Regions from separate parts of the Homo sapiens genome. Here region 2 is linked to region 1. The links are contacts of gene promoters, found by promoter capture Hi-C in human tissues and cell types (Jung and others, 2019). All regions are on one chromosome and are shown on one strand. The core of a region is centred on a gene start or on the middle of the fragment in contact, and the rest is flanking DNA. Distances in the headings are between cores, read along the strand shown. Region 1 holds the start of TNRC6A (trinucleotide repeat containing adaptor 6A). Region 2 overlaps ARHGAP17 (Rho GTPase activating protein 17).

The links. The method cuts DNA at HindIII sites, captures the fragments that hold promoters and counts their contacts. A contact is called where the count stands out against the background at its distance.
Region 2: a fragment that was not itself captured here is called in contact with the fragment with the promoter of TNRC6A in region 1 in 1 of the 25 tissues and cell types used here (IMR-90 fibroblasts).

The regions. Positions count from the first base shown.
Region 1 is chr16:24,728,391-24,730,922 of GRCh38, reverse strand. It overlaps TNRC6A (trinucleotide repeat containing adaptor 6A), which reads right to left and starts at 1,272. Exons shown (of 25, transcript NM_014494.4): 1 at 1,077-1,272; 2 at 623-670. The coding sequence starts at 1,081. RefSeq lists a silencer at 934-1,243. The HindIII fragment of the contact is 13,221 bases long and covers 1-2,532 here.
Region 2 is chr16:24,938,860-24,941,391 of GRCh38, reverse strand. ARHGAP17 (Rho GTPase activating protein 17) reads left to right here. Exons shown (of 20, transcript NM_001006634.3): 17 at 1,795-2,028. Among named protein-coding and RNA genes, the nearest start is that of ARHGAP17, 75 kb to the left of the region's middle. The HindIII fragment of the contact is 5,425 bases long and covers 1-2,532 here.

The DNA of each region.
Region 1 (2,532 bases), core at 23-2,522:
TCTGGAGAAAAGATTTTTAATTATTTTACCAGCTGATAAAAAGAGCACACACCGAACATGGACAGAAATGGAGTTTCGAAGGAAAACAAAACGCAGCTTATGCTTGGTAAAGTTCAAGGACAAAACTGTGTCCAATGCAACAGAATCCGCCTGACTACAATGTATGGGGGGGGGGGGGGGGCGGGGGGGAATGCGAACACATAGTATCTTTTTATAAAAGCAACAATTTGAGCTACAAAGTAATAACGGGGAAGCCAAAACAGTTTGACAGCCCGCCATAAGGGCCGCCTCAATCATGAGTCACACAATGCCTGCAACCATTTACAATAGTAATTAATGCACAAGTCCCCTAATTAAATTCTAAAAGGGTGAGAATGCTTTAACTAAGTTTACAAGAATTGCTTTGCGCTTTTTTTTTTTTTTTTTAAAGAAAGAAACACACGCGTAATTACGCATCTCCCCGCAATCCCTCCAGTATTCCCCCAGGCCGCTTCTCCCGAATGTCTGCTCTCCGGGTGCGGAAGAAAATGTCACGGGGGAACTTCTCAACCCAGAAAAGGCGAATCGGAGTAGAAATATACGATTATCGTGGGGCGGGAGACGGAAAGCTCGCCCATCTTACCTGCTAAGATTTCTTTCTACGTCTTTGGTAGCTTTAGCTTCCAATTCTCTGAAACAAAAAAACAAAAACAAAAACAAAACAAAAACACACACACAAAAACGAGATGCGCGTGAAAACGGAGCTGCTGCGGCAGAGGCTCGCGCCGGGGCCGGATGGGGGAGGGGAGAGGACGGGGGGAGGGGGACTCACAAAGCTGCGGGGCTGCAGCCCGGACTGCGGTCCCGCGGCGCGGGCGAGGCGCAACCCCGGCCTGGCCCCCGCGGCGCGGCGCAGCGAGGCTCCCCCGGGCCGCCCGCTCGGCCTCCGCAGCAACGCAGCCTGCGCCCTCCCGCCGAGGCCCGAAGTCTCGGGGACGCCCGGCGCCGCCGCCTCTGCTGCCGCCGCCGCGGGTTGCGGGCCCTGCGGCAGCGCCCGCGGCTCCTCCCGCCCGGAGGGAGGCCCTTGTTCCGCTCACCTCATGTGTGTAAAGTGCACGAGCAAGTGGGGCGCGGCGAAGGAGGCTCGCGAGCCTCAAGCCCTCCGCAGCGCCGCGGGGAGAGGCCCGAGCCGCTGCACCAGCGCCATTTTCTACACCGACCCGCTGCCGCCGCCGCCGCCGCCGCCGCCGCCGCCGCCGACACCGCCGCCGCCGCAGGCCCCAGACCGGAAGTGAATGCCCCACTCGGCAACCCCTTCCGGGGGCGCCACGGCCACTGGCCCCCAAGATGGAGGCCCTAGCAACTGGACCCGCAGATTGGGCAGGTCCTTGGCAACCGCCCCGGCGTGTCACGCTGCACCCAGCCGGACCTCCCTGGAGGTCACAGCCTCCGAGGCGCCCCGCGGAGTGGCTGGGGGGGCCTGCGGAGTCCCGAGTCCAACCTTTTTCGGTGCGGCCGGCTCCGGTCTGACCGAGGAGGGGAGTCCCTCCCCTCCTCCTCCTTCTTTGCTGCGACACAAGTTTCCTACCCGCCGCCCGGCCCCTCCCCCACTGACACACGCCAAAAAAAAAAAAAAAAAAAATTGCCTAAAACGCAAATTTTACCCCAACTGCAGCCTGATGAGCCCGCGCGGCTTTTGAATTCAGCCACTTCTAATTATTTTTGACCTTGGGCCAGTTATTTAACCTCTCTGCTTCTCTGTTCCTCCTCAGGTAAAGAATGCATACCTGAGGCGGGTTGTGAGGCTTAAAAGCGATTTTTATCCACCGACCTTTGACTCAGCAGTTCCGCCTGCACGGATTTTCTGCTCAGGAAATAATTCTGGGTATCTGCAAATATTTCACCTTCGAGATACTAAGCTGTGGTATTGATGATGGTGAAAAATTGCAAACAGCCAAAATGTCCAGCGCTACTAGATGGCTTCAAAAACAGCTACTGGCATGTATTAGGACACTGTAAAAATGATGTGGAGGAATAATCCCGGCATGGAGGAAATGGTTGCAATAGAATAAATGAAAAAGCAGGTTCCAACGTAGCTCACACAGTAAGAAACATCTTAGTGTAGACACAGTAAGATACATACATGTAGATAGACTAAGATATGTATATATGTAGACACAGATGCATATGTGTACATTAAAAGTATACATACATACCTACATGTAGATACAATAAGACATACATATCTGCAGGTAGATACAACAATACACATACATGTAGATACAGTAAGATACATATTTTCACTTGCGTGTGTTCTTTCCAACCTCTCATCAAGCTTTTTCTTCTAATTTAAAGATAATTCCTCCTCTGTGCTTAAAATCTATAACCTTTACTTTCTCAGAAACCCCACTCTGTGGATCATCCCATTCTCCTTTTTCTAACCTAAGTTCTTCAACTGGCTTTTTTTTTTATTTTTTTATTATATTATCATTTTTTTTAGGCGGAGTCTCGCTCTGTCTCCCAGGCTGGAGTGCAGTGGCGCGATCTCCGTTC
Region 2 (2,532 bases), core at 14-2,513, 210 kb before region 1:
GGGTGATTAAGACTGTTTGTAATTTGTGCCTTTGGATGCCAACCTGTCCCATGTGTGTGATGAAATGCCACTGTACTCACTAGGAATGCTAACAGTTAAGAGGCCTGTTGGAAGTAATATGCTTTTCTTGGTATATTAAATAATACTACTAGAAATAGTTTTACATTAAAACGAAGTGACAAGCTCTTATTTTAATTGCTCAGTCTTATAGTGAGGTGTGCTGTTTGTTTCTTGTTCTTTGTATTGCATTTTTTACCCCTAGCAAAGGAGAATGCATTATTCTGTCCCTATTCTGTCCTTCCAAAATCCACATTTATTCTATGCAGACGTATTACCTCTCTGAACCCTCATTCATACATTCAGTAGTATTTCCTGATGACAGACTCTACCTGTAACAAAATTAGCTTTCATATATTTTAAGTTACAGAATACAGTGCATGAGTCTAGTTAGCACGTGACAGACAATTCTCAGTTACCTGCCTTGTGTATTCTCCCTGCCAGCTGACCCAGTAAGCACGAGCTCAAGAAGCCAGGTATCTTTTTACTTTTTGAACTGAAAGAAAAAGTTGTTAAGTTCATAGATCAGTCGCCTTAAGTGAAAAGTCAGCCTTCCTTCCACCCTCTCCAGCCACATCCAGCCACCATTCCCTTCCCCAAAGCAACGGCTTTTTCCAGTCTTTTTGGTTTTTGTTTTTTTGAGACAGGGTTATGTGCCCAGGCTAGAGTGCAGTGGTATGATCATGGCTCACAGCAGCCTTGACCTCCTGGGCTCAGGCAGCCCTCCCACCTCACACACCTGACTAGCTGGGACTATAGGCACGCACCACCTCACGCAGCTAATTTTCTAAAAAAATAGTTTTTTGTAGAGACAGGGCCTCACGATGTTTCCCAAGCTGGTCTTGAATTTCCAAGCTAAAGCGATCCTCCCACCTTGTCCTCCCAAAGTGCTAAGATTACAGGTGTGAGCTACCATGCCCAGCTTTTCCAGCCTTATGTACCTTTCACATGTAGTCTGCATATGCACATAGGATTGTTTCTACATCTCATCTCAGTTAAGAGGCAGTGTGGTGTGATAACCTTACACTGCCATTGGTAGGCCTTCTGGACTTGACTTCTGTGTCATTCCCCAAAAACAGATTTGAGATGGGAACTAGGAAGTATGGAAATAGGCCGGATGTGGTGACTTATGCCTGTAATCCCAGCACTTTGAGAGACCAAGGCAGGAGGAATACTTGAGGCCAGGAGTTTGACATCAGCCTGGGCAATGTAGTGAGACCGCATCTCTACAAAAAAAAATTTTTTTTTAGTATCCCAGTATGGTGATGTGTGCCAGTAGTCCAAGCTGCTCCAGAGGCTGAGGCTGGAGGATTGTTTGAGCCCAGGAGTTTGGCACTGTAGTGAGCTATGATTGCTCCACTGGAGTGCCAAGCACTCCAGCCTGGGTGGTGGAGTGAGACCACATGTCTAAAGGGGGAAAAAAACAGCAGAGGAAGTATGGGGATAAACACACTAACATGATGTCATTCAAGATGAGGCCTGCCTATTTGCTTTTAGCTGCTCACACCCAAATTGATCAAAGACATTGAACAGTACCAGGTTCATTGGCTTTGCTCAGGCTTGAAGCCGAGTGGAGTTGCTCAGGGGTGGCCATTAGTCTGGTCCTTGCCGCTTCACTGCATGCCGGGCAGCTTGGGTGGCTATCCCCATGTGTGGTTTTAACACATGTGGACCGATGGGCTTCTGTCTCAGTAGTCTGCTCGCATGGTGTGTTGACTGTTTCTTCTCTCTGTGTAGCTTTGGTGTGAAGCTTATGGACTTCCAGGCCCACCGGCGGGGTGGCACTCTAAATAGAAAGCACATATCCCCCGCTTTCCAGCCGCCACTTCCGCCCACAGATGGCAGCACCGTGGTGCCCGCTGGCCCAGAGCCCCCTCCCCAGAGCTCTAGGGCTGAAAGCAGCTCTGGGGGTGGGACTGTCCCCTCTTCCGCGGGCATACTGGAGCAGGGGCCGAGCCCAGGCGACGGCAGGTAAGGAGGCTGACTTCTGCTGGCAGTGGAGGCTGGACGCCCCAGCCTTCTTGCAGGTGGTGGCCTTTGAGCACGGCATCCATGCCCAAAGAACTGCTCCAGCATGGAGTGAACAGATTTACTTTCACTCCTCTGGTTGGCAAAAGATGGAAAAAAAGACTATGAATGGCTCGCTTCTTTTTATGTTTTCCAAAGAAAGCAACATTGGTTTGCATTCTTTGCCACACTGCTTTGGTGCTGGAAACCGGAAGCCAGTGGATGTCTCATAGTGTGATGAGCCTCTGTCACCTGTTGGATGTATACTGTCAGCATTCATGTACCTTCTGTTCATTGTCATCCAGTGTGCTAACCAGGAAGCATTTGAGTGTGGCAAGTTAGTTAAATTTTCGTATTCCTGGCATTTATTCACCCATTCGTTGATTGATTCAGTGAAACAGATTTACTGAGTCACTGATATGTGCTAGGCACATGAGGTGACTAAGACTCCACTCCACACCCCCAGAT